3 separate regions of the Homo sapiens genome follow, and regions 1 and 3 are each linked to region 2. Evidence: promoter capture Hi-C in 16 types of primary human blood cells and fetal thymus (Javierre and others, 2016). All regions are on one chromosome and are shown on one strand. The core of a region is centred on a gene start or on the middle of the fragment in contact, and the rest is flanking DNA. Distances in the headings are between cores, read along the strand shown.

The links. Contacts are between HindIII fragments. The CHiCAGO score rates a contact against its expected background, and 5 or more counts as called.
Region 1: a fragment that was not itself captured here is called in contact with the fragment with the promoter of DPH1 in region 2 in 3 of 17 cell types (naive CD4 T cells, endothelial precursors and total CD8 T cells); the score reaches 6.7 in naive CD4 T cells.
Region 3: a contact is called between the fragment with the promoter of SCARF1 here and the fragment with the promoter of DPH1 in region 2, in 2 of 17 cell types (fetal thymus and naive CD4 T cells). The highest score is 6.5, in fetal thymus.

The regions. Positions count from the first base shown.
Region 1 is chr17:2,293,756-2,297,530 of GRCh38, reverse strand. SMG6 (SMG6 nonsense mediated mRNA decay factor) reads left to right here. Exons shown (of 19, transcript NM_017575.5): 4 at 178-288. Among named protein-coding and RNA genes, the nearest start is that of SMG6, 8.1 kb to the left of the region's middle. The HindIII fragment of the contact is 3,042 bases long and covers 1-2,912 here.
Region 2 is chr17:2,028,751-2,032,743 of GRCh38, reverse strand. DPH1 (diphthamide biosynthesis 1) reads right to left here and starts at 2,591. Exons shown (of 13, transcript NM_001383.6): 1 at 2,514-2,591. The coding sequence starts at 2,574. RefSeq lists enhancers at 1,660-2,251, 2,252-2,843. The HindIII fragment of the contact is 3,872 bases long and covers 1,620-3,993 here.
Region 3 is chr17:1,642,904-1,647,209 of GRCh38, reverse strand. It overlaps SCARF1 (scavenger receptor class F member 1), which reads left to right and starts at 1,478. Exons shown (of 11, transcript NM_003693.4): 1 at 1,478-1,613; 2 at 1,971-2,032; 3 at 2,275-2,376; 4 at 3,243-3,768. The coding sequence starts at 1,513. RILP (Rab interacting lysosomal protein) reads left to right here. Exons shown (of 8, transcript NM_031430.3): 7 at 221-304; 8 at 591-1,060. The coding sequence ends at 768. The HindIII fragment of the contact is 11,256 bases long and covers 1-4,306 here.

The sequences.
Region 1 (3,775 bases), core at 142-2,641, 270 kb before region 2:
TTGACTGTGAATTTGCCTTGTTCTCAAATTGGTGGCCAGTGAATATTGTGCGTGCCTCCCTTTTCATAGGATGTCTGAACATCAGCAGAACTGTGAAAGGGTTGTCTGCCCCGGTTTTTGGTGGATAGGTTGGATTAGAATAGATTGATTCAGTCATTTCTTTTTTTCTTTTTATAGGGTAGTGACTTCTTTGATAGTTTGCTTCAGAAGCTGCAGGTTACTTACAAGTTCAAACTGGAAGACTACATGGATGGTCTTGCCATTCGCAGCAAGCCATTACGCAAGACAGTAAGCTACCTTCTTTATGTATCTTAAATTTTCATTCATTTCGTAAGCGTTTATCTAGTGTTAGGTATGTGCTAGACACTGTACTGGGTGTTGAGGATAAAATAATGATACAGTTCAGTGCAGGGACAGATAGATTAAACCAACAATTGTAATGTCATATGTACTATGGTAGTGGTATATAGCAGTGCTCCCCAGCCTTTTTTCTTTCTTTCTTTCTTTTTTTTTTTTTTTTCATTTTTTGAGAAGGAGTTTCATTCATGTCACCCAGGCTGGAGTGCAGTGGTTTGATCTTGGCTCACTGTAACCTTCAACCTCTGCCTCCCAGGTTTAAGGGATTCTCCTCTGTCAGTCTCCCGAGTAGCTGGCGTTACAGGTGCCCACCACCAAGCCTGGCTAATTTTTCTATGTTTTGTAGAGACGGGGGTTTCATCATGTTGCCCAGGCTGGTCTCGAACTTCTGACCTTCGGTGAGCCACCCGCCTCAGCCTCCCAAAGTGCTGGGATTGCAGGCATGAGCCACCGGGCCTGGCCAGTCCCTAGCCTTTTTGGCACCGGGGACTAGTTTCATGGAAGACAGTTTTTCCATGGACGGAGATGTTGGGGCATTAGATTCTCATGAGGAGTGCATAGCCTAGGTCCCTCGCATGCTTAGTTCACAATAGGGTTTGCGCACCTGTGAGAACTAATACCGCTGCTGATCTGACAGGAGTTAGGGTTCAGGTGGTGATGCTTGCCTGCCCACCGCTCAGACCAGAGACTGGTACCAGTCCGCGGCCTGGGGGCTGGGGACCCCTGATATAGAGTGTTGAAGGGCCATAGGGAGAAGTGAATCTAACGTAGCCTGGTGGGGCCAAGGAAGGCTTCTTGGAGATTGTCAAGCTGAGTTTTGAAACATGACTAGGAGTTTGAAGGTGGGAGGGGCAGTTTAGATAGAGGGTCCAGCAAAAGAGAACCAGGCATTGTTGGGAAAGTGCAAGAACTTCAGTATGCTGGTGTTTGTAGTGTGGAGGGGGCTATTGTAGGTGGAAAAGCTAACAAAGTGGGAAGCGACTAGGTCATAAACTCTCATATGCTATGCCGAAGAGTTTGGACTTCATTCTGAAAGCACTGGGGAACCATTAATTGATTTTTTAGTAAATGGATAAGGTAGATTTGTTCTTAGAACCAGTCACTTGGGCAAATTGGTGAGTTTGAATGGGAGCTGGGCAAGAGTGGAGATAGAGGAGTCAGGTTGTAGGTCTGAACTAAGATAGAGGTCGTGGAGATGGGAAAGAGAAGACAGATTGGAAAGAAAGAAAGGAAATAGAATGGAATTGTTGACTGATTTGGTGTGAGGGATGAGATTGGAGGCATGAAGAGTCTGAATCATCTCCCAGCTGGTAGTCCAGGGGAGTGGCTGCAAAGGAAAGAGATTGGTTCAGGTTTGGATATGCTGATGTGGAGGTGTGTGTGTTACAGGAACTTGAAAGTGAACAAGTGAATATTGTGGTCTCTCTGGAGGTCAGGAGAAAGCTGGGCTGGTGATATAGATTCATGAGTCATCATGATACAGGTGGTGGTTGAAGCAAAAGTTGGGGTACTGGGAAGGCTGGCCAGAAACGGGGGTTACATTTCAAGGTGGGGGTAGGTAAAATTGTCAAGTGCAATGGAGCTGTCAAATGTTAAGATTACTAAAAAGTGTCCGTTGGATTGGATGAACTTATCAAGAGTTAATTTAGTTGGGGAAACTGGAAGCCGGATTGTAGTGAAGAGAGATAAAGCAGTAGAGATTGCCAGAGAGTAATATAGACCATTCTTTTAAGCATCTTGGCTGCGAAGACAAGGAGGGAAGACAGCTAAAAGAACATAGGGTTCTAAGAGAAGGTTTTTTGTTCTTTGTTTTTCGTTTTTTTTGTCTGTACCACGCCTGGCCAGTTTTTGTTTTAAGATTGGAAAGTTGAGCATATTTAGGAAGCAGTTAGAGATGCATTAGGGAGAGCAGCGTGATTTATGGAGCAGAGGCTTCCTCTTGCCTTTTTGCTCCTTCTACTACATACACACTTTCTTACTGATGGACAGATGTTTTTGGCTGGGCGCAGTGGCTCACTCTTTAATCCCAGCCCTTTGGGAGGCCAAGGCAGGCAGATCACCTGAGGTCAGGAGTTTGAGACCAGCCTGGCCCAACATGGCGAAACCCCCTCTCTACTAAAAATACAAAAATTAGCTGGGTGTGGTGGTGCATGCCTGTAATCCCAGCTACTCAGGAGGCTGAGACAGGAGAATCGCTTAAAAACCAGAAGGCAGTGGTTGCAGTGAGCTAAGACTGCGTTATTGCACTCTAGCCTGGGCAACAAAGTGAGACTCTATCTCAAAAAAAAAAAAAAGTGTTTATTGAGTTCCTCTTACATGCTTGGTGGTATTTTAGGCAGAGGCAATTCAGTGCAGATTGAAAAAAAACCGTGCTCCTGTTTCTTGGAGTTTAGTGTTTGATTGCTGGTGAGTACAGACTTTGGATGAGTAATTGCTGATGGAGTGACTTTTGCCAAGGATGTTGGGGGTGTATACTGTAAAGGGTTAACCTAGTTTTAAAGAATCCTGTGAGACTGAGAAAATCATAGTTAAACTAACGCTGAAGGCCGAAAGCTTCAGCCAGGTGAAGGTGTATGTGTAGATGCAAGGAGAGGAACATTTTAGGGGAAGAGGACAATATACTTAAAGGCCCTGAAGTGGAGAACACCGTGGTGTGTTAGGGGAACTTTGGAGTCTGGTCTGACTGAGGTACAGAAAGTGACCGGGAATATGGTGCTGATGAGGTAAGCAGAGGCTCAATCGTCCAGGACTTCATGCTGAGGCTGACGGAGAGCCTTTGAAAGAATTTGTTTTGTTTTGTTTTGTTTTTGTCTCTTACCAACATGACAAAGTGGATGTAGTATGGAGGCATAATCAGTTCTCTTTGTGCTTTATCAGTTAAATACAGAGGATTCTTAACACCTTTGGGGATGTTCATTCATAGAATCTGTGGAACAGTTAGGACTTGGGGTATGTGATATGTAGTCATTATAACTTTGCTGAGGTACAAATTTGAGTTATGTGCTAGGTAGGAGGTTAATGTGCAGTAGCTATTTCGCTTAGTGAGTGTGCCTTCCTGAGGGGTCAGTATCTTCTTCTCAATGAAGCTTTGTTCTTTATTCAGTGATATGTTAATTTCTTTTGTGTGGAGTGGAGTGGAATTATATTGTGTGCTGTGAGGTGGTGTTCCCTAGGGAGATATTTTGGGGGGCACATGCCTTGGGATTGGTTTACTCTGTTTTCTGAGTGACAGATGCCAAGCCAATCAGTGAGAAAACACATAGTCCTGCACAGTGTGTGGCACGTTGTTAATGTGTGATAAAGGACGATCCATTGTTTTAGGTGAAGGTAATGTAATGCCGTGGTACAATTCAGTGATGTTAACAGTTTGAAGAAAGACTATAATGATGGCAAAAAAAGTGGGTGGGCGTGATGGCTC
Region 2 (3,993 bases), core at 1,342-3,841:
AAAATAAAAACCCTTTGCTTGTAAGCCATCAGGAAGTTTAGGTCTTAAGCTTTAGCTGCCCAGTCTCCCTGCTTGGTGCCTTACAATAAATGCTTGTTCTCTCCCTGCAAATCTCCATGTCAGTGTTTGGCTTTTGCTTTGTGTGGATGGGAAGACCCAAGTTGAGTTTGGTAACAAGACCCAGCTAAGCTGTTAACTCCACCAAGTTTAAGGGCCAGATCCAGACACCAAGGGGGTTGGCCCAGCTTTCGTTCTCACTGAATTCATCCTGAAGGTAGAGACAATTCATTAAGCCAGAAGGTAACCGGTATAATTTCCATGTTGTGAAATCACTGGGAATCGAAGACTTGAGCCCATGAATAGAATATGGCTCACCTTCTTCCTCAGGAGAACAGAGGTGACACCAGGGGCTAAGGGGCAAAGAATGAGTCTGAGTCCATATACTGCTCCCTGATAGAGAACAGCCCTGCGGAAAACCTAAGAGTCAGTCTAGCCAGCCCAGCCAGCCTGGGAGAATGTCCCCCCTCTCCCACCTCCTGAGGACACCTTGAAGTTTTGAGCTTCTAGATATGAGGTCTATAAGCAAACCGTTAAACATGAATACTAACTTAAAAGACTGCCCTCCTGACTCAGAACCCCACTGACTGTGGCCACACTGTTCGTTCTTTCACGCTTACCTCTCCTCATTTAAAAGGGAAATAAACATCATACATTTAACTGACTTAGCTGTCCCATTGCTCCTCCTTACTCTTAAACCAGGAAGGATGGAAAGAACACTTGAGTCAGGGTGGTGGACGTACCAGTAAGGACAGAAAAGTGACCTTGTCCCTTAGAGACCAGCAGTCTAGTGGGGGAAAAGACAGGTATACACATAATTACAACTCCTGGAGTAAAGGGGAAACCGTAGCCCTTAGCAAACTGCAACTCTTACTCTGGTCTCATCCTACTCCTAAGTAGGATAAAAAATAATAAGCTGAATAAACAATTCATCTTATTATTTTTTAAGGCAGGGTCTCACTCCATCACCCAGGCTGGAGTGCAGGGGTGCAATCATGGTCCACTGCGGCCTCGACGTCCTGGGCTCAAACGATAATCCTCCCACCTCAGCCTCCCCAGTAGCTAGGACCACAGGCATGTGCCAAGACGCAGGGCTAATTTTTTTTTTTTTTTTTTTTTTTGAGACAGAGTCTCACTCTGTCTGTTGGCCAGGCTGGAGTGCAGTGGTGCAATCTCGGCTCACTGCAACCTCAGCCTCTCGGACTCAAGCAATTCTCCTGCCTCAGCCTCCCGAGTAGCTGGGATTACAGGCGTGTGCTACCACACGCGGCTAATTTTTGTATTTTTAGTAGAGACAGGGTTTCCACCATGTTGGCCAGGCTGGTCTCAAACTCCTGACCTCAGGTAATCCGCCCGCCTCAGCCTCCCAGAGTGCTGGGATTACAGGTGTAAGCCACCGTGCCCGGCCACGCACGGCTATTTTTTATTTTTTTGTGCATACAGGGTCCCCCTATGTTTCCCAGACTGGTGTGGAATTCCTGGGCTCACACAATCCTCCTTAGCCTCCCAAAGTGCTCAGACTAAAGGTGTAAGCCACTATGCCCTGCCCCGACAATTAAGCTTAGTTCAACCCCGTTATCTCTTCAGGAGCCACAGAGTCTGAGGATATGAAAAGGCAAGAAATTAACTTATTCAACGAATATGTATTGAGACTGTGCTATGTGCCACAACTTCTGCTAGGGCCCCACACTATGATAGGAGGGACCCGCCCAGACATGAGGCTTCACCCACTGTGTGGGCGGCGGTGGGGATGGTCCAGCGGAGGCTGGGGCCCTGAGATCAGATTTGAACGTTACCACTGCTATGGTTTTTGGCCAGTTGTTTCAAAAGCCTTGGACAATCAGCCTAGGCTTCCTAGGCCCATTACAGATCCTCCTCTGACAGGTCCCTAGTGGTCGCTGGCGTGTAAGGAACTGCTAACATTAGCCCTTCAATGTGTCCCAGGGACCAGTAGGCACCTCCTCCTTTATCACGTGGCTATGATATGTTTACATTAACATTCCCCCAGTAGACTGAGATCTCTGATTCTAGTACCTGCACCCAGCGCAGGCCTGGCATTCGGTGGGCGCTCAGTTAATGCCTGGCGAATGAAACCTTTTGCCTCTTCCCTGAAAGCATTCCCTGAGGGCGCACTCGTAAAATGCCCGCTGCATCTGGCCTGGCCCTTTCCCTCCCCGTCGAGTCCATTTTATCCGTCTACCCGCCAAGACAAGGCTGTAGTTTCCGATTGGAGGATTAAGGGCTGCTCTCGGTCGTGCCCTAAAGCTGCAAAAGACTGGTACCCCTGGGCTCCGGCTGACAGCGACCCCGAGCTGGTGACAGCGGCCCAAGGCGACTAACAGCGGGATCTAGCGGAGAAAGGCGCCGCCGCCGTTAAAGGGGGTTGGTCCTGTCCCTAACTTGGGGGCCCCGCCCCGAGATGCGAGGTCTGGAGGGCGCAGCGTTCCAGCACCCACCTCTGCCAGGGCCGTCTCGGCCGCCCTGCTCCGCTGCCCCGGATACGACCAGCGCCGCCATCACCTGCCTGCGCATGTGGTACTAAAAAGACAGCGCTGGAAGAACGCGGAGAGCGCAGACATTGCGATCGATCGCCGATCGGCCAGCGGGGGCGGGGGATACCCGCTGGGCGGGGCCATAAAGGAGGAGATAGGGGCGGGGCTGTAGTGGGCTCCACCCCAGCCCAGAATGCCGGGACTCAGGATTCCCTAGAGGTCCCCGACTATGCAGTTGCCCTTGCCCTGCGACTTAGTCTCCCACTCCTCTCCCCGGCCGGGCACGAGCCTGGCACTCCCGGACCGGTGCTCTCCTATGTGCGAACTCCCTGCACGAACTCTGCAGGCCGAGTCTTGTGAAGGGGACACCCACCAGATGTTCCTTGAGCCCCCCCTGCCAGTCTCCCCTCCTGGTAAGCAGTGGTCGGTCACCCGGCCGCCGTGTGGGGCCACGTTCCCTACCTAGGGGGACTCTACTGTCCGGCAGGACAGAACTCAGGGACCACCAGCCCAGCTCCAAGTTGAGAGTCTTGGTGCAGGTTTGTGGATCGCCCTTATCAGCTTTTTAAATTATTTTTTTTGAGACAGGGTCTTGGTCTGTCGCCCAGGCTGGAGTGCAGTGGTGCGATCATGGTTCACAGCAGTCTCAACCTTCTGGGCTCAATTCATCTTCCTGCCTCAGCCCCCTGAGTACCCGGGACCACAGGCGTACGTTCAGCTAATTTTTTTTTTTTTTTTTTTTTTTTTTTTTAGTAGAGATAAGGTTTCACTATTTTGCTCAGGCTGGTCTTGAACCTCTGGACTCAAGCAATCCTCCCACTTTGGCCTCCCAAAGTGCTGGGATTACAGGCGCGAGCCACTGCACCCAGCCTTTATCACCTTTAGAATCCACTGCGTAGACCCTGTAGAAACTGCCCCTCTGGGGAAGGCCCACAGCCTGAGGGTGCTTTCCTGGGAAGGTGGGCAGTGGAGGACTGTGATGTCTAACCCTTCTGGACCCTGGCCAACCTTTGCCCTGCCCCTCAGGGCTGGTCTTTCTCCTGATCACTGGCCAGAGCCCCAGAGACCCCAAAGAGAAGACAGCCAGTGAGACGGCTTTGACCTGTGGAAGAGCAAAGTACCTGCAGGACTGGCCCTCAGCAGTCTGTCCCGTGGAACAATGGTCTTCCAGGTCTGACGGTCTACCCAGCCCCCTGGCATCCTCCTCCTCTCTCTGCGGTGGTGCTGTGATCACAGCTGGCCCTTTAAGTCAGCTCTGTGTCCTCGGGCTCCCCCAGAGGCCCTCCCTGCTTGGAAACCCCTAATTAAGGTGCAGGGAGAAGTAAAAACAAGCAGCCAGAGACAGGCCCTGCCTGGGAGGCTGCCCAGAGAGGAGGAATGGCTGGACAGGCAGGGAGTGAGCAGCTGAGGGACCATCACCAAGGGTCAGTGCTGTGCCCCCCAG
Region 3 (4,306 bases), core at 229-2,728, 380 kb after region 2:
TGAGATCGCACCACTGCACTCCAGCCTGGGCGACAGAGTGAGACCCTGTCTCAAAAAAAAAAAAATTAAAAATTAAAGGCTCGACATCCTGCATCTCCCCAGGGTTGCCTTCTCTCCAGCCCCGGGGGCCCTGCAGTCCCTCCATCCCCCCTGCTGGATTCCTGTTGTCCCTCAGGGCCTTGATCAATGGCCCTCACTTCTCCTCTCTCCTCTGTCTCAGTGAGGATGAGGCTGGCCCATGGATCCTGCTCTCCGATGACAAGGGAGACCATCCCCCACCCCCGGAGTCCAAAATACAGAGTTTGTATGTTGGGGAAAGGGGAAAGGCAAGAGTGTGGGGAGGGAGGAAGGGCCCTGGCTGGTCCTTCTCAGGATCCCCTTTCCCGCTTCTCTGCCCGTCACCCTGCTGTGCTTGGCTCTAAGCACACCGTCCCCTCCTGCTTCTCTGGCCCTGGCCCCCATCACCTTCACACTCCCTCAGGCTGCCCTTTCTTCCCCCTCTCCCCTTTTCTCACCATCCCCTGCCCTCACCCATATCCTTGACCTCTCTGGCTTCCTGGCTCAAAGTGCCTCTGGCTGTCTCTCTCCAGCTTTGGCCTATGGTATCGGGGTAAAGCTGAATCCTCTGAGGATGAGACCAGCAGCCCTGCACCCAGCAAGCTAGGGGGAGAAGAGGAGGCCCAACCACAGTCTCCAGCTCCTGATCCGCCCTGTTCTGCCCTCCACGAACACCTTTGTCTGGGGGCCTCAGCCGCCCCAGAGGCCTGACTTAGGGGTCTGGCTGTGGAAGGATGTGTGGCCTCAAATGAGGACAGGGCTCCCGCCTTCACAGCCCTCGCCAGGGGTCTGCCCCAATCCTGGCCTGCATCAGGGCAGGACGGGGTCTCAGCCCGCCTCCCTCTCTACGTCTCTGTACCGAGCCTCTGGGGCCAGATATAAGAGTGCCTCTCTGAGTCTCAGTTTCCCCATCCATGAAATGAGAGCTGACTGCCTAGCTCCCAGGGCTTTGTGCAGACGGCCTGAGCTCATGTAATAAAGAACTGCCCGTAATACACAGAAACTGTTCCTCGCCTGTCTGTCCATGTCTGTGCCACCTCCCAACCCTGCCAGGAGCAGAGGCAGGCTGAGGGGTCCTCGCTGGTCTCCTTGCTCAGTCACTGGGTGGGGTGGCTTCTTGCAGCTCAGGCCTTGCTTTGGGAGTGTGGCCTGATGGAAAGCCGTGGCTCCCAGCCTCAGTCCACCCCCTTCCCTGGCCCCGGCACCCAGGGACCTGCAACTTCATTCTTCTGGCCCTTCCAGGCCCAGGCCAGTCAGCCCTGCCATTGCCTTTCTTTCCCTTTCTTTTTTTGAGTGTCAGTCTTTCCAGCCACCCCCTCCCTCTCAGGGAGGTGCCTCGTGGCAGCCCGCCCCTCCGGCCTGGTTTCCTCAGGAAAAGCCCTGAGAGGAAGCAGGGAGGGGGTTGGGAGCTGTGGGGGCCAGACGAACCCGAGCGCTCCCACCGAGCTGCCTGCCATGGGGCTGGGGCTGCTGCTCCCGCTGCTGCTGCTCTGGACTCGGGGGACTCAGGGGTCCGAGCTGGACCCCAAAGGGCAGCACGTCTGTGTGGCCAGCAGGTGGGTCTCGTGGGAGTCTGATGCGTGTGGCCAGCAGGTGGGTCTCGTGGGAGTCTGATGCGGGTGGCTGAACCGGTGTTGAGGCCGTTAGGGGAAGGAGGAGACTAGGAAGGGGGCTTAGGCTGAAAGGAAGGGACTGCTGATGGCGGTCTGGCAGGTAGTGGCCAGCCAGGGCAGATGGTGGAAGGGTCAGGGAAGGAGAGGGGAGGGGCTGGGGACCCTAGCTGTAAAGATCCATTAGGCCTCCCCAGGGGGCTAAGGCAGCCTCCCCCACTGCAGCCAGAGACAGTGATCCACCTTCCTCAGGGCCAGGCTGCACCCCCCACCATGTCCGGCTGACCCCTTTTTGCCCCACAGCCCCTCTGCTGAGCTGCAGTGCTGCGCAGGCTGGAGGCAGAAGGATCAAGAATGCACCATCCGTGAGTAGCCAGGACAGACCCTCAGCCAAGGAGAAGGGAGGCCGTAGCCCAGTGACAACCCTTCCTTCCTACCCCATGGGGCCTGCCCCTCCTGATACCAGGAGTCAGGGTTTCTCCTGTGACGCACCCCCAGGCCTGAAGGGGCACCTCTTGAGGAGGCATGGCCCCTGGAGCCAGTGAGAGGGCAGGGGTGTCCCCTGGTCCTGCTCCCGTCTTTCCAACCTGGGTGGGGTGTCTTTCAGCCATCTGTGAGGGGCCGGACGCCTGCCAGAAAGACGAGGTGTGTGTGAAGCCGGGCCTCTGTCGATGCAAGCCTGGATTCTTTGGGGCCCACTGCAGCTCCCGTGAGTCTCAAGGGCCAGATGAAGTTGCTGGGCAGAGCTGGGTACGGGGGCAGTGGTGTGGGAGCAGGCGAGGCAGGTAGCCATGCAGCCTCAGGACAGCAGGGCCAGAATCCCCCCCAGCTTCACTGAGGAATTGCGGTCCAGAGACAGGAAGTGACACACACTCCCGGGAGATGACCTGAGTCACCGGGTTTTTACCCACATCCACAAAGCACTGCCCACCTGAGCATCTTCCTCTTCCACTTCTCAGAAAACCTGTGATTCCCCTTCATTGTAAAATGAGTGTATTACTTGCCTTTCCCACATATACCTTATACATGGGCAGTGGATGGAAGGGGGCCCCTGGCTGGGCTCTCTGCCCTCTCTGGCAGAAAGAGAGGGAAGGGAAAGGGGTTGGGAAGCAGGAGAGCCAGAGGGTGGGCATCAGGAATCAAGGAATCACTAGGGGAAAGGTGGCTTCTCCCGACACCCTGGCGGGCAGTATCCAGGCCTGAGATCAGGAGAAAGCCAGCTCTCCTCCAGCCCAGCAGAGATCCATCTCGGCAGGGAGGAGCAGGCATGGAGGAAGGCCCACCAACCTCGGTGCCACGCTCTGGGCAAGTCCCCTGCCCACTCAGGATCTCTGAGTGTGTTCTGGAATGTGAAGTGGCAGGCTGAGCCTCCCACTAATGGCTAAGGGTTTTCTGTAGGTCAGAGCGGAGCAGGAAGTGAGTGTTGCCCAGGACAGGCTGCCGGATGTTCTGAGGGTCTGTCCCCGGCTCTTGGAGGATGGGCCCAGCGCCCCTTTTCCTTGAGGAAGGGGACGCAGGGTAAGGGTCTGCGCGCGGCCCTGAGCCCGCTGACCCCTCCCGTCCCCACCCCCGCAGGCTGCCCGGGCCAGTACTGGGGCCCCGACTGCCGTGAGAGCTGCCCCTGCCACCCGCACGGCCAGTGCGAGCCAGCCACGGGCGCGTGCCAGTGCCAGGCCGACCGCTGGGGAGCCCGCTGCGAGTTCCCGTGCGCCTGCGGCCCCCACGGGCGCTGCGACCCCGCGACCGGCGTGTGCCACTGCGAACCCGGCTGGTGGTCGTCCACGTGCCGCCGCCCGTGCCAGTGCAACACCGCGGCGGCGCGCTGCGAGCAGGCCACGGGCGCCTGCGTGTGCAAGCCGGGCTGGTGGGGGCGCCGCTGCAGCTTCCGCTGCAACTGCCACGGCTCCCCGTGCGAGCAGGACTCCGGCCGCTGCGCCTGCCGGCCGGGCTGGTGGGGTCCCGAATGCCAGCAGCAGTGCGAGTGTGTGCGGGGCCGCTGCAGCGCCGCCTCCGGCGAGTGCACCTGCCCGCCCGGCTTCCGCGGAGCGCGCTGCGAGCTGCCCTGCCCGGCAGGCAGCCACGGGGTGCAGTGCGCACACAGGTGAGCGGGCGGGGCGGGGACAGGTGGGCTGGCGGGGCGGGGGCGGACACAAGTGAGCAGGCGGGGCGGGGCGGAGACAGGGGGGCGGGGCGGAGACAGGGGGCGGGGCGAAGACAGGTGGGCGGGGCGGACACCGGTGGGCGGGGCGGACACCGGTGGGCGGGGCGGGCACCGGTGGGCGGGGCGGACACCGGTGGGCGGGGAGGGGGCGGGGTGGAAACTGGTGAGCGGGCAGGGTGGGGGCGGGGCGGGCACAGGTGAGCGGTCGGGGGAGGGGGCGGAGGCGGACACAGGTGAGCGAGGCTGCGCGGAGACCTGTGAGCGGGCGGGGCGGAGCGGAGACAGGTGGCCGCGGCGGGGCGCCGGGAGGAGGGGTCAGGGCTTCGCGGTGCTCCTCTCAAAAAACATACAAAGCAGAGGAACGAGAAAGGGGAAAAGTCGGATAGGTGGGGTGGCTCACACCTGTAATCCCAGCACTTTGGGAGGCTGAGGCGGGTGCATCACCTGAGGTCAGGAGTTCGAGACCATCCTGGCCAAC